3 separate regions of the Homo sapiens genome follow, and all the other regions are linked to region 1. The links are contacts of gene promoters, found by promoter capture Hi-C in human tissues and cell types (Jung and others, 2019). All regions are on one chromosome and are shown on one strand. The core of a region is centred on a gene start or on the middle of the fragment in contact, and the rest is flanking DNA. Distances in the headings are between cores, read along the strand shown. Region 1 holds the start of CYTL1 (cytokine like 1). Region 2 overlaps STK32B (serine/threonine kinase 32B). Region 3 overlaps STK32B (serine/threonine kinase 32B).

The links. Contacts are between HindIII fragments. The study calls those that stand out against the background at their distance.
Region 2: a fragment that was not itself captured here is called in contact with the fragment with the promoter of CYTL1 in region 1 in 2 of the 25 tissues and cell types used here (H1 embryonic stem cells and thymus).
Region 3: a contact is called between a fragment that was not itself captured here and the fragment with the promoter of CYTL1 in region 1, in 2 of the 25 tissues and cell types used here (IMR-90 fibroblasts and aorta).

Annotation. Positions count from the first base shown.
Region 1 is chr4:5,016,619-5,021,463 of GRCh38, forward strand. CYTL1 (cytokine like 1) reads right to left here and starts at 2,840. Exons shown (of 4, transcript NM_018659.3): 1 at 2,675-2,840; 2 at 517-561; 3 at 218-346. The coding sequence starts at 2,827. It also overlaps a transcript of STK32B not described here. The HindIII fragment of the contact is 2,782 bases long and covers 2,112-4,845 here.
Region 2 is chr4:5,129,635-5,134,479 of GRCh38, forward strand. All of the region lies in intron 1 of STK32B (serine/threonine kinase 32B), which reads left to right. Among named protein-coding and RNA genes, the nearest start is that of STK32B, 81 kb to the left of the region's middle. RefSeq lists a silencer at 3,628-3,922 and an enhancer at 4,387-4,845. The HindIII fragment of the contact is 4,515 bases long and covers 1-4,222 here.
Region 3 is chr4:5,108,115-5,112,959 of GRCh38, forward strand. All of the region lies in intron 1 of STK32B (serine/threonine kinase 32B), which reads left to right. Among named protein-coding and RNA genes, the nearest start is that of STK32B, 59 kb to the left of the region's middle. The HindIII fragment of the contact is 4,169 bases long and covers 804-4,845 here.

The DNA of each region.
Region 1 (4,845 bases), core at 1,590-4,089:
CAATGCGCAGCTCATGGAGACAAAGGGCCTTGTCCTGAACCCCATCACCCAACAAGGCAACCATGGTTGAGAAAGGGCTTTGTGAACTGAAAGCATCTGCGAAACATCTCTGCTCCTCTTCCTTGTCACCATCTCCTCCCAACTCTCCTCTTTGAAAAGCTCAGAAAGTCTTGGCTGATAGCAAGTAGAAAATAGACTTTCAATGGCATCCACTTACTCTCCTGCAGAACGAGTTCATGATGGTGTACAGCTTCCGTGCTTTGTCCTTCAAGGAATCTACCTGGGCCACTTTCCAACACGGGGGCGAGGCCACAAAGTCCCGCAGCTTGTCCAGCACACAGTAATTCTGGGAGTGGGCAATGGGGAGGGGGCTTGTGGGAGAAGTCAGTAGCAAGAGGAACAGGGACTGAGCTGCATAAGATCTCTCCCTGACTCTGTGCCACACAGCCAGCAGCAGAGGTTCAGACCTGAGTCCCTCAGCCCAAGACCTCCCTCCCCCAGGGAGAACCCTCTTACGTGTATGTCCAGGTACAGCCTGGGCAGGTATCTCACACATGGCTCCTGTGGAAAGGGATAAGGGGTTCTGGGATGCCCACAGGGGCATACCTGGTCACAAAAGTCTCCCTAGTGGCCCTCTCAACAGCCAGACCAGCCCAGATCCCTGGGGCCCTCCCTGATGCTACGACATGCACAGTACTTTCTTGTGTCATACGTCACACTCCTCCAGAAATGGGCGACTGCGCTTCCGGAATTAGACTTTTAGAATACAACTTTTATATCATTTGCTATGAACCAGGGAGCTGTTTTATATGCATACCCATTCAGAAATATACATACACGTATATACATAAAAGCAGTCCTATAACTGTAATATAGAAATAGTGATATATAATACAGTAATACAAGTATACATACAGAGTATATATGTACATCTATAAAACAGTTCTATAACTATTTAGTTATATAACAGTTGTATAAGTTAGTTATATAGTAACTTATATAATAATATACTTATATAATAACTTATATAAGTATATTAGCTATATAACAGTTGTATAACTGCATGTAATTATAGACATTATATATACTTACATAAGTACGATATATGTAATAATACCTATTGTTCTATAGGCATTCTATAGCTAATATGTAGTTGTATATAGTGTATAATATAGTAATATCGAAGTGCATAAATTTGCATACTTTTATATTTCTATATTGGGCTTCCGTTTTTGCGCAGGGCTGAAGGGCAAAAGCCCTCGTGCTCTGCCCTCTCAGTAATCCCCGTGTGACCATGGGCAAGTGCCTTCCTTCAGTCCTCAGTTGTGAAATTAGAGATTTAGAATGCATAATCTTTCCACTTTCTTCCCGCTCTGTGGTTCAGAGCCTCTGAACTTTTTAAACCTTTTAAAATCAGATTCCTTTAAAAGATGATTGCTGTCTATATTCGATAACAAGAAACTTGTGGGTAAATTGTGGTGAAACTGTACAACAAAATGTTAAAACAAAAATGAACTTATTTGATAGTGTCATTAAAAAGTAAGTTGCAAAACTGCTTGTGCTGTTTGACCCAAATTTTGTTTACACACACACACACACACAACACACACGTATTTGAATACCTATATGTAGACAGAAAGCTGAAATATGATCCTCCACAATGCTACGGCAGCAGCTACCTCTAGGTGGTAGAATTACAAGCAAGATTTTTTTTCTTCTTTGTACTTTATTTTCCAACTGTTCTACAAAGTACAATACTTTTATAATTAGGGAAAAAATACATGTTATTTAACTTTTAAAAAGAAAATACCAAGAAGGTGTTAGCTAGGCTTTTGTAAACCCCAACATCTGAGAAACATTATGTTTTGTTTGAAGCATTTGCAAGTGATTAAAAGACACTTTGAAACTTTACAAAAGCTTTTAATGAAGTTTAATGCATTTTGTTTCGACGGAGAAGCAGGCAGAGGCCTGGGTTCTAGTCCCCAAAAGCCCTCCCGGGTCTTCCCCTCTCTGAGTCCCCAGATCTGCCTCTGAAGATCGTGCTCACATCAGCTGGCATCTGTTGAGTACTTGTTCCTGTAGGCTTGGCTCTGTGAGCCCTGCCTGTGTTCACACCTGCCTTTGATCGTCAAAGCCACTCTAAAGGGAGGGGTGCTACTGTCATCCCATTTTACAGACAAGAAAACTGAAAGGCAGAGGCTGAGAAATTTGCCCGGGTCCCTCAGCAGATGAGGGGCGGAGGCCAGTTCTGTGAGCCACCTCTTAGGGCACACTCCTCACTAGGCTAACAAAAGCAATACACAAGCTTCATTCCTCCGTCCTCCTTAACTCTGATGGGGAGCTGTTTTTCTCCCCATCCTCCCACTCCTTTTTTTTTCTTTTTTCTTTTTTTTTTTTTTTTTTTTTTTTACATTTTACAACAGATCCTTTGATATTTGCTAGTAAGTCACAAAAATTGTGTTGTCTTTACTTTTTCTTGTGTTTTGAAGAAAGCAAACCATTGGTATCATATTTAAAAGGAGATGAATAAAACACAAATACTCCTGAGATTTACATTTACTAGAAAAGAAAAATATCCTTTTCTCTCTCTCTCTCTTTTTTTTTTCGTGTAAAGGCAAGGGTTTAAGAACTGGGTCTGCCATGCACCCCTGTCCTGAGCGGGCGGGGGACTCACCGAGGGCTCCGAGACCTGCAGGAGGTTGAAGTCGCGGGTGATCTCCTGGCTCAGGGCCCGCATGCGGGAGTAGCAGGTCGGGGGAGTGGGCCGCGCGGCGGGGGCTCCCGCCAGGAGCAGCAGCAGCACGGGCAGAGGCCCAGGCGTCCTCATGGTGCCAGGCGCTGGTGCAGCCTCGCCGACCGCCCCTTTATGCAGGCTGGGGGTGGTCCAGGGCGGCTCCACGCCTCCACTTCCTGTGGGGCCAGCGCAGGCTGCGGTCCATCCAGGGTGGCAGAGAGGAAGCCAGCACGCCCACCGGGCAGGGTCGGGACAGGAATCCTCTCAGACACGAAAGCCCCAGGTTAAGAGGAGGGGCTGCCTGGAGGAGGGGGTGACAGAGGGTGGCTTTGCCTCCCCCACACTTTCAGCAAGAAATTTCTTTCTGCACAGGGACTTTTCCTGAAAAGGCAGGAACAGCAGATGGAGAGGGGTGGGGGATAAGAGGAGGACAGAGATGGAAGGAGGGGAGGGTCAGAGGAGAGGAGTGGGCAGTCAGGCCTGGGTTTGGATGGCACGGTTTGTCAAAATGGATATAGTGCCAGGAGGGAAAGGGACTAGCAGGGGATGACTGAGCATCCCTCCCTCCAGGCAGCCCGCAGTGGAGCAGGGATGCAGAGCTGCGGTCAGGCCACCGGTGTCCTCGTCCATCAATCGCTAACCAGGTAGGTGAGCCTTGGGCCAGGGCCCCCAGCCTCTCAGAAGCCGTGTGTGTCTCTCGGTCCGGAGGATGGGCTCACTGAGCGGCCGTATGTGTGGGGAGTGTGAGTACCCCCACCCTCTTCTACCTCAAGCTCCCAGCACAGGCCCCGAGGGAGAGCAGACCCTCAGGAAGGGTTAGTTTTCAAGAAGTGCATCTCCCTCAGGGCTAACTTCCCAAGACAGTGGCAGGTAAAGGTCTAGGCTCTCCACTTAGACGCCGTGGGTGCAAAGCAGGGTCACCGCCTTCTGGCTTTGACCTTGGGCAAGTTTCTTCAGTGTTTCCTCCATCTCCTTATCTGTGAGATGAGGCTGGTGAGAGTGGCTCACTCAAAAGGCCATAGTGAGGAATCAACAGGATATAGCATGACTGAGCAAGCCTCATGCCAGGCCCATTGTGTGTTTCCAAGTGATCGGAGCTAATAGCACTGTCTCTGTTAAATCCAGCAATTGTCTCTGTGAGGTAGGTGCCACAGAAAAGAGTCCCATTTTCCAGGTGGGAAAACTGAGGCTCAAGAGTTCCAGCAACTTGCTGGAGGTCACAAAGCTGGAGGCACATGGGTTGGGATGAGACTTCAGGCCCTGTCCTCCTGCCATTCTTCCATCCCACAGGGCAGGATGGGTGAGGAGCAGGACTCTTGCAGGCAGAGATGAGTTGGGGTCCTCAGGCTGCCCAAGATCAGGCAACAAGCAAGAAGGAACTGTCAAAAGGGAGAAGATTCTTCCTTAACACTGAACATGACTTACATACCAGCAGCCACCAGGCCAGCTGCCATTGGGAACGCTATGACCCTCACAGCCAGCCAATGAAGTGAATGGGGTTATTCCCAATTCCCAGGCGAGGAAACTGAGGGCCTCGGGGGATGTGAAGCTGGGAAGAGCAGTGGAGCCCTGGAGCTATGTCTGGACTTTCCTGCCTCCAAAGCTTCCTCCAACAAAGGAGGAAAGGGGAGCATCCTGGGCAAGCTCCACATTCCCAGAACAAAACAACCAAAGATGCAGCCCACAGGGATGGGTGAACCAGAGCATGGCATCCTGGACACAGGGCTGGACTGAGGATCAACCACAGGGATGAAGCCCGGCTCCAGCTTGTCCCCACTGTATTTGCCAGGAGAAATCCCTTCTCGACCTGGCCTCCATTCCCTGTCTGTAAACAGGATAGCATCACGCTGGGCGATGTCTGAGGTTCCTTCCAGCCCCAGTGTTTTATTTATCTAGTTTCTGGTGGTAAAAGCCCTGGGCAGGGACTGTAAGCTGTGCCTTCCTGTTTTGTAGGTGAGAATGTGTTCTCTAAACACCTTTAGCAAGATGACATAGGGACCGCGGCCTTCGGGCAGAACTGTGTGTGCTTGGAGGTGGCAAGTGGAGGCACAGATGTGTTTTCTTCTGGGTGAAGGAGTCTCCACACTCCCTCCATGATAGTGCCTGGGGCA
Region 2 (4,845 bases), core at 715-3,214, 110 kb after region 1:
ACGAACTTGAGAGGAACTGACATATCTCTTGTGTGCCTCAACCTTTAGTACCTTACCGCATTAATCACCTTAACAACCCTAAGAAGTAGGTATCATTGTGCCTATTTTATCAATGACTATGGTGAGATACTTCCTGAAGATATCCTTAACTCCCTAGGCAGAAGTGACCCTCTCATTGCAAATGTGTACAGCCAGCACTCCTTTGGATTTCTCCCATTCAATATTTATTCATTCACTTGTTCTTTCTTTTTTTATTCAGTAAATATTTATTGAGTGCCTATTATATGCCAGGCACTGTTCTAGGTGCTTGGGATGCTGAAATGAATGAAACAGGCAAAACTCAGTCCTCAAGGAGTTGACATCCCAAAGGAGAGGTGCAGACAATAAACAAGTCAGTAGGAGGACAACAAATATTTCTGATCATGACAATTCCTAAAACAGAAATAAAAAATACAAAAGAAACGGCAGTGAGGTAGGGAGTACCAAGGGAGGTGACCCAAATAGGGTGGTGAGGGAAGACCTCTCACCTTCTCCGGCGGGGGGAGGCCTGGGGGATGGGAAGGAGTCAGCACTGGGGCACCATGACCAGGCGTTCCAGGCAGAGGGACAGCAGGGCAAAGGCTCTATGATAGTAGAGTGCCTGGGCTGTGAGGCACAGCCAGGAGCCATGGGTGGCTGAAACACACTGTGGTGAGAGCAAGGAGAGTGACGGTGGGGAGGTTTGGCGGGAGGGGTGACTGGGTTCTTCTAGGCCATGGTGAGGAGCATGGATCTTATTTCATGCACAATGCCATGCTACTGAAGAATCCAAACCGGGCTTGGGCTGTCGGCTTTGAGAAGGTAGGCAAAAGGCAAAGAAAGTAATCTCTTGGCCTTGGACCTGTGAACAAACTCAGCACCCTGGAACCAATAGGTTCACACCAAGAGGACACCTTCCTGAGAACTGCAGTGGTCTAATCTGTTGTCCAAAATAACCCCTTTCCAAAACCTGAAGTCCCTGGGAGGCCAAATCAGGCATTGGAGAGCAACTTGGTAAACAAAGGGAGGTGAGGCCGCTTGAGCAATGGTTTTTTAAGGCGCTGCTGAGGCCTGACCCATTCCTGCCTGAGGAAATGTCTACCAATCCAGTGGGTTAATCCTTCCTCCACCCTGCCCCACTCATCCCTTCCACTCATACTTCTGTCTTGCTGTTCCTGGAACTCATCTTGCTATTTCATGCCACTGTTGAAGATTTTCCTGAAATCCTTTCTTCTTCTCATCCCCTGGGAAATTTTTGTTATTCCTCATGTATATGCTCAGTGTCTTGTGCTTTTCAAAACTTTCCCTGATGGTCCCAAGAGGATGGAGTGGATTCTTCTCCCTGACCTTGTGCCTGACTCTGCCGCTGCACCCGTCACCCCCTTTTGATGTCTGCCAGGACCTGGGCATGCCTCTGCTAGGCAGAGGATCCTTGGGAGCAGAGCCATCACATCTGAAGTCCTCTACTCCTATCAGGGAACTCAGAAAATTTGAGGAGAACAGACCTAAATCCAGTAATGAGAATGCCCCTTTCACTGCTTCCCACGTGTGCACAGGCTGCACCAGCACTAAGGGCTTGCTCTGCCTCCCCCTTTTCCAGGCTGATGTCTGACCACTCACCCCATCTTTTCAATCAGCTTTCGTCAGGCAGGCTGAGATCGCTGTACAATCACTGAGATCCTGCTTCCCTAGTTACCGTCATGTGGCAATTTTATCTCCACCTGATTACATCTAAGATGCTTTGATTGAAGTTTGAATATTTCCAAACAGCTTAAACAAACATCAACAGACCATATTTTTCGTTCTCCTCCTCAGAACCCTGTAGTACTTTCTCATCATGTTTGAAAAACTTCCTAGAGCCCTTACCCCAGCCTGTGAAGCCCTGCATGGCCAGCTCATGACCTCTCCTCTGACCCTGGCTTTCCCACTTTCTCTCCTTCCTACACAGCAGTCCAGCCATCCTTGCCTGCCTGCTGCTCCTGGGGACTGTCATGCATGTTTTTTGCCAAGGGCCTTTGCACATGCTGTTCTCTCTGCCTGAAATAACCATCCTCCTCATATCAGCATGGCATCTTCTGTCACTTTATTTATGGATCTGCTCTATTATCCTCTTTTTAGAAAGGCTTGCCCTGACCACCCTGTCTAAAATTGCAGCTCCTGCCCCCAACACAATCACTATCACCTTACCTGATGTAGAAGGAAGAATAACTGCTCCTCAAATATAACTGTGTCTTAAATGTTGGAATCTGTATACATTACATGGCAAAAGGGACTTTTTAGATGAGATTAACTGAAGGATTTGAGATGGGGGAGAGCATCCTGGATTGTACAGGTAGCCTTTAATGTAATCAGAGTCCTCATAAGAGGGAGGCATTTGGTTTTCTGTTCCTGTGTTAGTTTGCATGGGGTAATGGCCTCCAGCTCCATCCATCTTGCTGCAAAGAACATGATCTTCCTCTTTTTATGGCTGTGTAGTATTCCTTGGTGTATATGTACCATATTTTCTTTATCCAGTCTATTGTTGATAGACATTTAGGTTGGTTCTAGGTCTTTGCTATTGTGAATAGTGCTGCAGTGGACATTTGTGTGCATATGTCTTTATAGTATGATTTATATTTCTTTGGGTATCACTTATAAGTGGGAGCTGAACAATAAAAACACATGGACATAAAGAGGGGAACAACAAACACTGGGTGGAGGGAGAGGATCAAAAAGCTACCTATTAGGAACTATGCTTACTACCTGGGTGATGACATAATCTATACACCAATGCCCTGTGACATGCAGTTTACCTAAGTAACAAACCTGAACTTGCACCCGGAACCTAAAATAAAAAATAAATAAAAGGGGATGCATAAGGGTGAGAGAAGATGTGACAACCAAAGCAGAAGTCGCAGTAATATGGGATCACAAGCTGAGGAATGTGACACCTCTGGAAGCTGAAAAGACAAGCAGACAGATTTTCCCCAAGATCTTCCAGAAGAAACACAGTCCTGCTGACAGCAGGATTTCAGCCCAGGGAGACTTCCAGGACTGTAAGATAATAAATTGATATTATTTAACCTACCAAGTATATGGCCATTTGTTATAGCAGCACCTGGAAATTCATACACCTGGATTTACTTTCATTCATAGAATTTACCACTTTTTTTTTTTTTTGGGACAGAGTCTTGCTCTGTTACCCAGGCTGGAGTGGAGTGCAGTCGTGTGATCTTGGCTCACTGCAACCTCTGCCTTCTGGGTTCAGGTGATTCTTCTGCCTCAGCCTCCCAAGTAGCTGGGATTACAGGCATGCACCACCACTCCTGGCTAATTTTTGTATTTTTAGGAGAGATGGGGTTTTGCCATGTTGGCTAGGCTGGCTGGAACCCCTGACCTCAAGTGATCCACCTGCCTCAGCCTCCCACAGTGCTGGGATTACAGGCATGAGCCACTGTACCTGGCCAGAATTTACCACTTTCTGCCATTGAATTGCAGATTTGTCTCCTTGCACCAGAAGGTCAGCTCCCCTGTTGTAGGTTCATTGTGTGTTTTGTTCACTGTTGGTTCCCGGTACGTAGTAGAGGGCCTGGAAGGCAACATATACTCAGTCATCATTTCAACAAGTGTATACCCACTCAGTAAAAATGTATTTATTCTCCCCAAAATATTTTTTGAATGAGTGACTAATGGAAGCTTTTCATGATAGATGCCTGCCACAGCTTGGTCAGCCCCCTTTCTGTGTAAACATCAACAATTTCCTGTAGAGAGGGTGATCTCATTTCCCACTCCCTCAGAGAGCTCCCTACCCATACTCCCACTACTCAATGTAGGTCATTCATTCATGCATATATGTCATTATCTTGAGTGAGTACTTAACACAGCACTACCTGCCTGGCACCTGGATTCAGCAATGAACAAGACTGTGGCTCTTTGTTAAGGGGTCATCTGGTTACCTGGATTATTTCTGTACTAAGGAGAGACAAACTCAGAAATAATCGCCATCATTATATGCTGATTATATAATAGTCTTATTCCAAGAAAAATCTTAGAGAGATGTTAGCTCATTGTACAGATGAAGAAACTGAGATTCTGAGATGTTAAGTGACTAGGTTGAAGGCCCATGGCTGGACCAGGGGATTGGGTGGCCACTCTTCAGTGGCTTCTGTTTACTGAGTTGCCCTTTTGCTACGTCACTGTCTATGGCCGTCATCCTGACTTGGGGATGCAGGCATCACTACCTCCATTTTATTAAATGGAAAATCAAGGCTTGGAAGTTAACTTACGTCCTCAGGTTCACACTGACTCAAATAGTGGGGCTGGGTTTAAAACTTTGTTTAAACCTTTGTCCAGGGAACACCAAACCCTCCTTTTCATCCATGGCCTGACTCTCTCCCCATCAACAGATAGGACCTCTCTCTGCTGCAGCCCAATGACCCATACCTCAGATGCTTACAGAATCAGGCAGGAAACAGAGATGCATAAACTGGGCCAGGTGTGACAGTGGTGAATCAGAGAATATTGTGGAAGGGCATCGCAGGCCCAGATTTTTTTGGCAAATCTTCCAATTTCTTGCGGTTTTAACGTGTTCCCCAAAGTTTATGTGTTGGAAACTAAATTTCTAATGAAACAGTGTTGAGAGGAGAGGCCTAATAAAAGGTGATTAGGCCATGAAATCTCTGCCCTTATGAAGGGACTGCTGTCATTATCATGGGAGTAGATTAGTTATCACAAGAGTGAATTACAAAAGCAAGCTTAGCCCCCTCTTGCTCCTTTGTTATCTTGCGCTCTCCTGCCCTTCCTCTGTGGGATGATGCAGAAAGAAGGCCCTCATCAGATGCCAGCACC
Region 3 (4,845 bases), core at 1,638-4,137, 92 kb after region 1:
TTGGAACGTTATAAATGGCAACTTGTGCTGTGTCTTCTTTTGCATCTTATATGTTTCCGAGGATGTGACCTGTACTGATTCACATAGTTGTAAATTATTTTTGCTGCTACATTATATACCAGTGTTAGAATATATTGCAGTCTATCCATTTTGCTTCTGAGGCAATTTGGATTGTTTCCAGTTTGAGGCTAGAATAAATCTCATATATGTCCTGCACATGCTTTTTGATGTACCTACAGTTTTTTGGATATTCATTTTGGAGGGGAATTGCCAGGTCACGTGTAAATTCCCAGTCTTGGTTGGCGCTGTTAAATAGTTTTCTAAAGTGCCCTTCTCATGTTTGGGTGTTGAGGTTATGCTGATCTCATAAAACACGTTGGGAAATATTCCCCTTTTCTGTTTTCTGGAAGAGTTTACTTAATTTTGTCGTTTTTAATATTTCAATGGAAGAGTTCTCCATTGAGGCCATCAGAACTTAAAGATTTATTTGTGGCAATATAGTTAATTTTAGATTCAACTTCCAGGTAGAGGACTATTCATATTTTCTACAATTTTTTTTGTTAAGTGGTCCAGTGACTCGCAGAGTCGGTAGTTCAAGTTCATGTGGCATTCCACCTGTCTTAGACTTCAGTATCACCTGAAAACCTGAAATCTGCCGATGCTGTGAGTCTGTTGACTCCACAAAGTAGGCTCTTTTTTTACCCTCTAAAATCACAAGTAGAAATCATGAGCAAAAACAGGAGAGTGGCTAAAACAATAATTAGGGAAGAATAGTTACGTTACATCTGCAGCACTCATTAGTCTTGAATAATGGAAACCTGAAATGGCAATTTCTATGCAAACACTCCCAAGGCTGGAGGTGCACAAGGCTGCACTCTGTTACTGACCTGCCAAAGCCCACTGCTAAGGAGGATTTTTCTCTCTGCTTCTTAATTGCCATGGTCTCCCCAGCTTCCTTGTCCAGTTAATGCAGACTAAAGCCACATTCTTATCCAGAGCCTTGTCCAGCAACAAAACTATGTGCTTTATTATCCTGTGAGCCCTGACATCTCAGAATCTCAGGATACAAGACCCAGAAGCAACTTTCCAGGTGTCATGCGCAGCTGCCTCATTTTTCTAATGAGAAAACTGACTTAAGAGAAGGGGAAGGCAAATGGCCAGGGCTAGTTATTCATTCATTCATTCATGTATTCATCCAATATTTATTGAACAACTATTTTATGATAGTCACAAAGGACACACACATGGACGAATGCTCTTGCTGAAGACAGACAGTGGAGCTAACAAATGAATACATAAAAATTAGCAAATATGATATGTACTAGGAAAGAAAAATACAGAATGCTGTGATAGAAAATGATAGGCATGTCCACATGAACAGAATTAGGAGCAAGGACCGTGTGATCATCTCAGTAGATGCAGAAAAAGCAGATTGATAAAAAGCTGGATTTTATAAAATCCAGCAGTCCTCCATGATAAGAGCCCTCAACAGGCTAGACATAGATGGAACATAACTCAGGATAATGGGAGCCATGTATGGCAAAGCCACAGCCAGCATCATGTTGAATGAGGAAAAGTTGAAAGCATTTTCCCTATAATCTGGAATAAGACAAGTTCCACTATTCAACATAGTACTAACAGTCCTAGCCAGAGCAATCAGGCAGGAGAGAGAGATAAAAGGTATCCAAATTGGAAAAGATGAAGTCAAATTATCTCAGTTCTCTGACAACATGATCATATACCTCGAAAACCTTGAAGACTCCTCTAGAAGACTCCTAAACCTGATTAGCAACTTCAGTAAAGTCTCAGGATACAAAATTAATGTATGAAAATCAGTAGCCCATTTCTGTATATCAATAACATTCATACCGAGAACCAATCCCGTTTACAATAGCCACAGAAAAAAAAAACCTGGGAATACATTTAATCAAGGAGGTGAAAGAGCTCTATAAGGAGAACTACAAAACACTGATGAAAGAAATTGTAGACAATGCAAACAAATGGAAAAACATCCTATGCTCATGAATTGGAAGGATCAATATCATTAAAATGACCATATAGCTCAAAGTGATATACACATGAAATGCAGCTCCTATTAAATTACCAATGTCATTTTTCACAAAATTAGAAAAAAAAATCCTAAAATTCATATGGAACCAAAAAAAAAAAAAAAAAAGCGCAAATGACCAAAGCACTCCTGAGCAAAATGAACAAATCTAGAGACATCACATTGCTTGATTTCAAATTATACTACCAGGCCATGGTAACTAAAACATCATGGTACTGGCACAAAGATAGACACATGTATCAATGGAATGGAGAACTCAGAAATAAAGCCACATACCTGCAACCAACTTGTCTTGGGCAAAGTTGACAAAAATAAAAAATGGGAAAAAGACATCCTATTCAATAAATGGTGCTGGGAAAACTGGCTGACCATTAAGTGGAAGAGAGAGGCTGGACCCCTATCTCTTACCATATACAAAAGTTAACTCAACATGGATTAAAGACCTAAATGTAAGACCTGAAACTATATTAAGTCCTAGAAGAAAACCTAGGGAAATGCTCTTCTGGACATCAGCCTAGGCAAATAATTTATGACAAAGACCTCAAAAGTAAATGTGACAAAACAAAAAAATAGACAAATGGGACTTAATTAAACTAAAAAGCTTATGCATAGCAAAAGAAATAATCAACAGAATAAACAGACAGCCTACAGAATGGGAGAAAATATTTACAAGTTATGCCCTCAACAAAGGATTAATATCCAGAATCTATAAGGAACTCAAGCAACTCAAGAGGAATAAAATAAACAACACCATTAAAAGCTGGGCAAAAGACATGAAAATACATTTTTGAAAAAAAAAAGAAATATAAGCTTCCACAAACACATAAAAATGCTTAACATCACCAATCATCAGAGAAATACAAATTAAGACCACATTGAGATATCATCTTACATCAGTCAGCATGGCTTTTATTAAAAAGTCAAAAACAACAGATGTTGATGTGGACGTGGAGAAAGGCAAATGCTCATACACTGTTGATGGGAATTCAAATTAGTTCAGCCCTTATGGGAAACAGTATAAAGATTTCTCAAAGAACTAAAAAGAGAATGACCATTTGACTCAACAACTCCACTACTGGGTATCTGCTCAAAGGAAAATAAATTATTACACAAAAAAGACACCTGCACTTGTATGTTTAGTGCAACACTATTTATAATAGCAGAGTCACAGAACCAATCTAAGTGTCCATCAGCAGTTAATCAGATAAAGAAATTGTGGTGTGTGTGTGTGCAATGGAATAGTATACAGCCATAAAAAGGAAAACATCGTGTCCTTTGCAGCCACATAGATGGAGCTGGAGGCTGTTATCCTAAGTGAACTAACACAGAAACAGAAAATTAAATATTACATGTTCTCACTTATAAGTGGGAGCTAAATGAAGGCTACACATGGACATAAAGATGGAGAGAATAGACTCTGGAGACTTCAAAAGGGGTTGGGAAGGGTTGAAAAATTATCTATTGGGTAGAACATCCAATATATGGATGATGGGTACACTAGAAGCCCAACCCCTGTCATTATGCGTCTGATACCCATGTAACAAACAAACACATGTACCCCTGAATCTAAAATTAAAAATAAAGAAAACGATGTGTATGGACCTCCTTGATGATTCTATCTCAGTTTGGGTTTCCTTACAAGCAGATTCTGAGACAAGGATCCATGTGCAAATAGCTTGTTTAAGATGTGGTCCCAGGAAACAGGCAGGAAGAGAAGTGAGACAGGGAAGGGAAAGCAGCAAATAAAGGAGATTTCATCATGCAGGTACCACTGTGGGCATGTGCACACTTTAGTAAGCAGTGCATAACATGTCTTAAAATCATCCTACCCTTTGTTTAAGAGACTTGGGATATTGGCCCACCCATGCCCATCAGTCACCAGGTAAGAGCTGCTCTCAGAGTACTTTAATCCCAGACATTTCTCACCTGCTGTGCAGGGCAGAAGGGGTTCTCACTACAAGAGAATGCCCTACAGCAAAGAGAAGCAGGTGCTTGCAGTCTGTGGATTGAAACAGTAAGGATAGAGGGGAGATGGGTGGGGGTGTCTGCTGTGAGATTGTATTTGTCAGCATTCTCCAGAGAAACAGAGTCAATAGAATGTAGATCTATATAAAAAGAGATTTATTATAAGGAATTGATTCATGTATTCAGGAGACTAAGACATCCCAAGGTCTGCAGTTGGCAAGTTGGAGAGCCAGGAGAGCTGCTGGAGTAGGTCCAATCTGAAAGCCTACAGGCTCGAGACCCAAGAAGAGCTGACATTTCAAAGCTGAGTCCAAAGAGGGCTGATGTCCTGGCTCAAGGCAGTCAGGCAGGAGGAGTTCCCTTCTACTAGAGGAAGGGTCAGCCTTTAGTTCTCTTCAGACCTTTAGCTGATTGGAAGAGGGCCACCCACATAGGGAGTCAGTCTGCCAATTCAAATGTTAATCTCATTTCCAAACACCTTCACTGACACACTCAAGATAATGTTTGATGAAATATCTGGGCACCCCATGTCGCAGTCAAATGGACATGCAAATGAACCATCACAAAGCTAGTACAAGAAAGCTTCTCTGTGGAGGAAAAATCTAAGCTGAGATTGGAAAAATGAACCACAGTGGTTTCACAAAGAGCTGGTGAAGAACATTTCCAAAGAAGGGAAGAGAAGAGCTTGGCTTGCTGTGGGGGTTGACAGATGAATGTGACTGATCAAAGTGAACAAGATTCATGTATTCAAAAGATATTATTGAATACTGACACTGTGCCAGACACTGGGGATAAGAGAATGAGCCAAACAG